Linked DNA regions of Homo sapiens: regions 2 and 3 are each linked to region 1. The links are contacts of gene promoters, found by promoter capture Hi-C in human tissues and cell types (Jung and others, 2019). All regions are on one chromosome and are shown on one strand. Each heading gives the region's core, a stretch centred on a gene start or on the middle of the fragment in contact. The rest is flanking DNA. Distances are from core to core; before and after follow the strand shown. Region 1 holds the start of SESN2 (sestrin 2). Region 2 overlaps YTHDF2 (YTH N6-methyladenosine RNA binding protein F2). Region 3 overlaps FAM76A (family with sequence similarity 76 member A).

Region 1 (2,842 bases), core at 241-2,740:
TCAGTGGGGTTAATGAAGAAAGCCTCTTTCTGAGCCCATCGTGGGCCTCAATGTTCTTCCTGTAAAATGGGGCTATAGCGTAGCTTGTATTGCTGGTTTAGTCCTGAGGACTTAGGTTAAAGGCGAAAAAAACTCAGAGCCTGGTATCTAGTAGGTGCATAATAAATGATAAGATGTCCATTATCGCTGCTGCTGGTAGTGGTGGGGGAGTGCGAACTGTCAGTCTGGTTAGGTCCAGCCTAATTCCCGGTCTCCCTGCAAAGCCCCTGCGGGCTATGCCGGGATGCGAATGCGGGGGGGTGGAGGGGAGCGGCGCGAAGGGAGGGTGGGGGAGGAATTTCTGGAAAACAAACTTCTGGGCCTTCAGACCACTTACTTAGCAGGGCGCAGCCTAACCCGCGCTTGGCTTCGGAAGCCGCGACCAGGGTTGTCCCCTCTCCCCCCAGCTTTGGCTGCCGCCGCCGCGTACCGGGCGGCCCGCCAAGCCCCCAGAGCCCCTGCGCTCTCCCTCCAAAGCAGGAGTGCGGTGGACATAGGATGAGGTCGACTTTCACTGGCCAGTCCCAGGTGCCTACGCCCCGCGCTGGGGGACAGGAGCCGGGAGGCACCCCAGGAAGGGTCCTCTGCCCGCCGGCCCCCGCGAAGAGGAAGGGACTCCGCGGAAGGGGGCGGGGAGGAGGAGTGGTCTGGCCGCTCCGGCCGGGATTTGCCTGGACTTGAAGACGCTCAGGAGCCCAAAGCTCGGAGAGCCTCCAGAAGGCTTCTCCCTCATTGGCCAGGAGTCCGAGGGAGCCGAGGAAGGATCCGCGGCCCTGGGGTGGGGCGGTGAGGGAGAGGGGGAGAGGGAGGGAGGAGGGGGAGAGGGAGGGGGAGAAGGAGGGAGAGGGGAGACAGAGTGGGGGAGGGGTGCCGAGGGCCGCGGCTGCCAGTTGATGCAACCCGGGTCCCGGGTTACGCGCTCGGCTTTCCCTCCCCGAGCCCAGGACACACCGACTCAGCTCCGGACAGCCTGAGGCTCAGACGCGGTTCGGGGTTCCAGGGAAGAGGGGCGTCGCGCGGCCGCCGCTTACCTCTCCGGGGCCCGAGTCGCCGACGCCGCCCGGGGCGAACCGCAGGTAGTCCTTGAGCTCTGCGCGGCACTCGGAGTCCGCCACGATCATGGTGCGCGCCAGGACCCGGTCGCGGCTCGCCGACGACCCGTGCACCCGAGTGGGTTTCGGAGGGACGCCCGAATGAAGCCGGGACTGGGCGCCGCCGGGGAGCTTCTAGAACCCCGGGGCGTCTCTCGGGGCTCCAGAACGCTCCGGAATCCGAGAACGGCCGCTTTGGTGCTGGACTCTTCCCCCAGTCGGGCTTCGGGAACGGCGAACGGCCTCGGGGGCCTGGGAAGGGCCGCAGCGCAGGGGTTTTCACGGCCTCGGAAGTCCGCAGGGGCCAGGGCTGCTCCCGGACCCAGCGCTCCTCAGCATCCCCGCCGCGGAACTGCCAGCGCTCGCCGGGCTCTGACACCAGCAGTTCAGCCCGCTGCGGTCCCCGGGGGAGGGCGGGGACACAAAAGCCCGGCGGTCCAGCCAATCAGAGGTCTGTTTCCCCGGGGAGGCGGGGGAAACTCCGCCCCCTGGAGTCACGGGCTCCGCCAATCAGCACCGGGGAGCGCCCGGAATTCTGGGAGTTGTAGTCCGCCTCGGGTGAATGCTGCAAACTTTTGCAAGACGGTTTAGTCAGATCCCTGGCAACACCAGACGGCAGTGACAGCCCTAAGAGTCATTAGGGTTGCGTGATGAAAAGGGACTTCACTGGGCTAGGCCAAACAGCCGAGTGTGAAATCTCCTAAATGAATTCTTCATCTTTTCAGTTCCTGGAGGGACTGGCTAGGGTTAAGAGAGGTTTGGCTCGCGTCCTATCCGGTGCTGCTAATTATAGAACTGAACCCCAGATATTTAGAGGTCAGAGGGCACAACCCTGCTCCCCCTGGCCTCGGGGAAGCTCCAAAGATGCGAGACACAGGGAATTCACCTTATTTGTGGAGCCTCAGGAAAAGCCTTCATTCCTTGAAATGTCATTGGTAACTTCGTGTGGAACCTCAATCCCTATTGCTGGAAGTTTTCTTCCTTCTGCTACCCGTCCTGGCTTCCACCCCTCCCACCCTCCTCGAAACTTTGTAACAAGGTGTTCTGCTGGATCTTTGCTCACCTCTCCCTCTGGCCTTCTCTGACTCCTCTTTCACCACCCACTTCCTAAAACGTGGGTGCTTCCCCAGTTTGTTTTTGCCCCTCTTCCCTCCAGACACTCTCCCTGATCTCATTCACTTCCTGGCCTTCAACTCGCCTCTTGCCAGAAAGTTGCCTCTACCAACACCTCAGCACCTCCAAGCTAAATTCATTTTCTATTCATTTCAAACGGAGCCTCTTCCTTCACAGTTTTCCTTCAGAGCTCCTTTTTTTGTTTCCATTTTAAAGTTATTGTTTATTCTAGACAGGGAATCCTGCCAGGGGTGAGGGTGGATAAGACCCCCAAGTCCCCCTCTGAGACTTCTAAGTCTAAGCTTACAATTCCAAAGATGAAACCGACTTGGTTTCCTGCCTCCAGATTCTTGGGAAAAAGAGATTAATCTCACCCTCCCCTGAGCTCCCAAGGCACTTGAGCTGGATCTCTTTTCACATGTATCACATTCTACCTAGTTTTTTTTGTTTTTTGTTTTTTTGTTTTCTGTTTTTTTGTTTTTGTTTTTTGTTTTTTAGTAAATAGAGACAGGGTCTCAATATGTTGCCCAGGCTGGTCTCAAACTCCTGAGCTCAAGCGATTCTCTCACCTCAGCCTCCCAAAGTGCTAGGATTATAGG
Region 2 (2,842 bases), core at 252-2,751, 490 kb before region 1:
TCCAAAATAGGAAATGCTCCAATGAACATTTTCTTCAGTGTCATGTGTGCACTCAGTTTCAGACTTTGGGGCATTTCAGATTTTCAAATTAGGAATACTCAACCTGAATAGCCCCTTCCTTGTTCTCTTTCTGAAACTCAAACTATTCTCTCTCAATCTCTTTCACTTGCTCCCTCTTTATTCTTCAAATTTTGTTATTTCTGGGGAACTTTTTCCATAGTCCTTTTCTCTCACTCGTGTTGGCTCTAGAACCACGCTGCAGAATTAGAACACCAGCTTTACTTTCGTATCTCATGTGCCTTTGCAAAGTTATTTACTCTTTTCTGTGTTTTAATGTTTTCATCAGTAAAACTGAGCTACTTATACCTACCTCACAAGGATACAAGAATTAAATGAACATACATTTAAATATATATTCAAGACAACTGTATGCTAGACACTGTACAGAGCATTCAATAACTGTTAGCCATTCTTATTACAAGAATCTTTGAAAAGTCAAACTCTTCCATGCCTTTACCTATCCTGAGGGTTGAAAATTCAAATTCCTGTCAACAATCTGAGCTCCAGATTCCCAGCTGCCTACTATCACCTGGCTGCTGCTACTATCACAGGCACCTGAAACTATTTCCAAAAGCCAATACAACCCCAAATCCTAACCCTAAACTGCTGCTCCTCTCATCATCTTTAATTTTTGAAAAACTAGTCAACAAATATGTCTACCACATTCTTCATATCCAGTTTCCCGTTCCCACTGTCCTGGTTCAGGCCCTCATCATCTTTTTTTCCCCAGAATACTGTAAAAGCATCTCGTTTAGTCTCTGAGCCATCTCCCACCCCTTTTTTTTTTTTTTTTTTTTTGAGCTGTCACCCAGGCTGGAATGCAGTGTTGCGATCTCGGCTCACTGTAACCTCTGCCTCCCAGGTTCAAGTGATTCTCATCCCTCAGCTCCCTGAGTAGCTGGGACTATAGGACTATAGGCACACACCACCACTCTTGGCTAATTTTTTTGTTTGTTTGAGACGAAGTTTTGCTCTCATTGCCCAGGCTGGAGTGCAGTGGAGCAATCTCGGCTCACTGCAACTGCCGCCTTCTGGTTTCAAGTGATTCTCCTGCCCCAGCCCCCTGAATACAGGCACCCACCACCACGCCCAGCTAATTTTTTAGTAGAGATGGGGTTTCACCATGTTGCCAGGCTGGTCTTGAACTCCTGACCTTGCGAACTACCCACCTCAGCCTCCCAAAGTGCTGGGATTACAGGCATGAGCCACCGCGCCCGGCCAATTTTTTTTTTGAGACACAGTCTCGCTCTTTCGCCCAGGCTGGAGTGCAGTAGCGCTATCTCAGCTCACTGCAAACTCCGCCTCCAGTGTTCACACCATTCTCCTGCCTCAGCCTCCTGAGTAGCTGGGACTACAGGCGCCCGTCACCACGCCCGGCTAATTTTTTTGTATTTTTAGTAGAGACAGTGTTTCGCCATGTTGGCCAGGCTGGTATCAAACTCATGGCCTCAAATGACCTGCCAACCTTGGCCTCCCAAAGTGCTGGAATTAGAGGCGTGAGCCAACTCACCCAGCCTCATAGATGTTTTGATAAGTTGCTTTCCTAAGCTTCCATTTGTTGATCTATAAATACAGGATACTGCCTCCCAGGTTGGTATGGGGATTAAAGTAAGGCTATGAAAGTACCTAGCATGGTGCTTAACAAGGTCAATGCTCAGTAAGTGTTTCATCCTTCCCATCCTCCAAACTGTTATTCCCTAATTAACTACCCTCCCTTACAACCAAACTAAAACACAGGTAAAGAATAAAATCCTAGGCCGAGCGCAGTGGCTCACACCTGTGATCCCAGCACTTTGGGAGGCCAAGGCAGGCAGATCACCTGAGGTCAGGAGTTTGAGACCAGCCTAGCCAACATGATGAAACCCTGTCACCACTAAAAATACAAAAATTAGCTGGGCGTGGTGACAGGCACCTGTAATCCCAGCTACTCGGGAGGCTGAGGCAGGAGAATCGCTTGAACCTGGGAGGGGGAGGCTGCAGCGAGCCAAGATCGCGCCATTGCACTCCAGCCTGGGGGACAAAGCGAGATTTTTGTCTCAGAAAAAAAAAAAAAAAAAGAATAAAATCCTGAAACTCTTCATATACTTGCCCAACCAATCTCTCCAGCGTTATCACTTACCATTCTAGACCACATTAAACTTCTCATTCTGAAAACATACCATAAGCATTCTCAAGACTATGTTTTTAACATGCTCTTACTAGAATGCCATTTTTTGGAAGACAGGGTCTCACTGTGCCCAGACTGGAGTACAGTGGTACCATCATGACTCACTGCAGACTTGACGTCCCGGGCTCAAGCAATCCTCCTGTCTCAGCCTCCTGAGCAACTAGGACTACAGGTGTGCCTCATCACACCTGGCTGATTTTTTTTTTTTTTTTTTTTTTTTTTTTTTTTTTTTTTTTGGAGAGGCAGGATTTCATTATGTTGCCTAGGCTGGTCTCAAACTCCTGGGTTCAAGTGATTCTCTTGCTGCAGCCTCCCCAAAGTGCGAGGATTACGGGCATGAGCCACTGCACCTAGCCATTTCTCTACTTTTCTATCTGGCAAACTTCATAGATCATGGAGTAGTCCATGAGCTTCGGGGTTAGAGACTCAGTGGCTCTCCAGGTGTAAGTTCCAATATACAAACATGAAACATGTTTTGAGCAACTTCTTTGCTAAACTGGGTAATAGTTTTTCAAATATTAGAATATTTCCTCAAAAAAATTTTTTTTTCTAGGGACAGTCTCCTGCTGTCACCCAGGCTGGGGTGCAGTGGCATGATCACAGCTCATTGCAGCT
Region 3 (2,842 bases), core at 182-2,681, 500 kb after region 1:
GAAGTCGGGGCTGCAGTGATCTACTTGCCACTGTACTCCAGCCTGGATGACTGAGTGAGACTCTGTCTCAAAACAGTCATAGAAGAGAGAAAGAAAGAGTTTATTCTCTAATGGACAGGAAATTCCCAATTAGCAGTTAGGCTTTTAATTTTTTAAGTCTATAAGCAAGACAAACTTTTCTAGGCTGAAGGGCTGAAGGGGATAACGGGGTATGTCTACTGGTAAACAGCAAGAAATAAAAACAAAATCCAACAATTACACTTGAGTCAATATGAATTTTTATTAACACACATTTGTCAAAGTCTGTACAAACCAAAACATTCCTGTGTTTTAAAATGTCCATTATTACAAACATACAAAGAAACAAAAGGTGTTACCAAAAGTTAGCTACTCAATTTCATGGTAAAACAGTGTCATGATTTTTAAAAATCAAAATTTCAAGACTGAGGTTTCTTCTTTCCCTTTTTGGAACTTATGGAAAGTTAGAAAACGTGTGAATTTGCTTTATATTAAATGCCAAGACCTTAAAAAAAGATTTAGTATAAAACTAAGTATGTTTTTATATTGTCATACATCATGTAACAGAATTTCAGTCCTTAAAATTAAAAAAAAACACCATGACTGTCATTTCCCCCTAATTTTTCTCCCATAGTCAATGCAAATGCATCTGAAAAATATTATGACAGTTTATCTTTACCTAAAAGCTTCTCATTCAAAAACTTTACAAAACTATTTAGCACTGCCATTTCCCTTGCTTAGAAGGGAAAATTATATCCCCTAGTAGGGTGATATATAAGCGACATGGTCCACTGTATCCCTTATCAGAAGGAAACCACCATTTCCACATCTCTGTCCAATTATGTGTAGGACTCCATTTATGAGAATGCTATCACAAATTATAGAGCATCTGCTTCCAGGAAACGCCTAGAAGTTAAATTTAGTACTATAATTTTTTGGTAGACTGAGGTACAAATGTTATCTGCCCTCATTATTATTTCTAACTCTAGTACCCCCTGCATAAATGATTCTAGGGTAGTTGGTTTTGTTGTTTCATGGCACACATGACACACCCTAATTCCTTTCACAAACATCACATAGAGGACCTGAGAGTATGCCTAGAAATGTAAATCTATCCCCTTTCCTGGAAAAGTAAATCCATATTCCTACAGGGTTAAGAAGGGAAGATAGGCAGGGCATACATAACTCTGGTTGAGGCAAAGTGCTTCTGAGAAGCACCTGTTTTCAATACATATCCATGAAAAGCAGGGAGTGTATGGGCTCGGGTGGGTGAGGAGTGGGGAGAAGGTATAGTGATACCACTTTTCCCAGACTCAAGAGTCCTTACTAGAGCAGCTCATGCTGACCCCAAAAATGCTCTGTAGTTCAAATATTATTCCTTTTTTTTTTTTTTTTGAGACGGAGTCTCACTCCATTGCCCAGGCTGCAGTGCAGTGTTGCGATTTCAGCTCATTGCAACCTCTGCCTCCCGGGATTCGAGCAGTTCTCCTGCCTCAGCCTCCTGGGTAGCTGGGATTACAGGTGCATGCCACCAGGCCCGGCTAATTTTTGTATTTTTTTAGTACAGATGGGGTTTTACCATGTTGGCCAGGATGGTCTCAAACTCCTAACCTCAAATGATCCACCCGCCTTGGCCTCCCAAATTGCTGGTATTACAGGCGTGAGCCACCGCACCCGACCATATTATTCCATTTTTAATCTGTTCATTCATGTAAAAAAACATTCTCTGACAGCAGCCCAGTATGACAACTGATATAAGCAAATAAAGGATTTTATTTTTTAAAGAAGTGGCAGTGTGAGAATTTAAAATCAATCACATAAAACAATCAGGAAAGGGGTGGGGAGAGAAGTGTCCAGTACAACCTGGACAACCTTGCTTTCTGCCCTTACTTAAAAAGACAGACGGTTCAAATCTTTGCTACCTCCCTTAAGTATCTCCATAAATGCTCTTCCAAGAAATCCTCCAAAAGGCACTTAGCTCCATACTTATGCATTGAATTGTTTCACCTTAGCAATCAGTTTTTAAGACTCCAAGGTAACAAGAAAGAAAAGATCTGATTCTTTTACTAAAAGCTAGTGAATAGGACTGTTTTTTTTTCAAGAGGCATCACTTTTACAAGAACTAGCTAGACCACCATTATTCCTTTATCAAGAAAAAGTTTCTTTTTTAAAAAATAAATAAAACTCTGGCTATACATAGTACAAAGTTCATACATAATACATCTGGAAAAAAACCGAAGAGTATACCCTGAAGCAAAAGGTTTATTGGAGAGAGAAAGCCTCTTCCATTATACCAAGTCTGAAGATGGCAGTTTTCAAAGTTCAGAGGGTGGCAGTGATATATAATTAATGCCAAACTGTTTGCTCATGGGTATGGCAGGATGCAATGAAGGACCAAAAAAAAAAAAAAAAACAAAAAACAAATCATTCTGCACATTACACTGAGCAGTGACCACCACAAAAAAAAAAAAAAAAAAAAAAAGAAAAAAGAAAAAAAAAGAATAGAACCAAAATAGAGAGAAGAGGAAGAAGAAAAAGAAAAGTCCTAATAGTGAGAGAAAGAGAGCGAGCTTGAAATCCCAAACACTCAAGCATGCAGTCTAACACAGCACAAACCAGGTGTTTCCATTCAGCCCACTGCAATCGCACAAAGAAGGATAACTGTAATAAAATAGAGATTTCTTAAGAAAGCTTGCAATTCCCACAGAACAGCCAGGTCTCCAACCCTAACCCTGGACAACTCCATTTGCTGTTGCTAGGGAGCCTCCTTGAGGTCTGTCATGGAGAGGTTATAGCTCCTGACTTCTCTGACTTCTTGCTCTTG

What was found. The method cuts DNA at HindIII sites, captures the fragments that hold promoters and counts their contacts. A contact is called where the count stands out against the background at its distance.
Region 2: a contact is called between a fragment that was not itself captured here and the fragment with the promoter of SESN2 in region 1, in 1 of the 25 tissues and cell types used here (dorsolateral prefrontal cortex).
Region 3: a contact is called between a fragment that was not itself captured here and the fragment with the promoter of SESN2 in region 1, in 1 of the 25 tissues and cell types used here (dorsolateral prefrontal cortex).

Annotation. Positions count from the first base shown.
Region 1 is chr1:28,258,166-28,261,007 of GRCh38, reverse strand. SESN2 (sestrin 2) reads right to left here and starts at 1,490. Exons shown (of 10, transcript NM_031459.5): 1 at 1,071-1,490. The coding sequence starts at 1,160. RefSeq lists silencers at 580-639, 1,420-1,629 and enhancers at 899-1,747, 1,740-1,919. The HindIII fragment of the contact is 10,821 bases long and covers 1-2,842 here.
Region 2 is chr1:28,752,980-28,755,821 of GRCh38, reverse strand. All of the region lies in intron 4 of YTHDF2 (YTH N6-methyladenosine RNA binding protein F2), which reads right to left. Among named protein-coding and RNA genes, the nearest start is that of YTHDF2, 17 kb to the right of the region's middle. RefSeq lists an enhancer at 812-1,311. The HindIII fragment of the contact is 8,261 bases long and covers 1-2,842 here.
Region 3 is chr1:27,760,536-27,763,377 of GRCh38, reverse strand. FAM76A (family with sequence similarity 76 member A) reads right to left here. Exons shown (of 9, transcript NM_152660.3): 9 at 262-2,842. The coding sequence ends at 2,797. Among named protein-coding and RNA genes, the nearest start is that of STX12, 11 kb to the left of the region's middle. The HindIII fragment of the contact is 6,157 bases long and covers 1-2,842 here.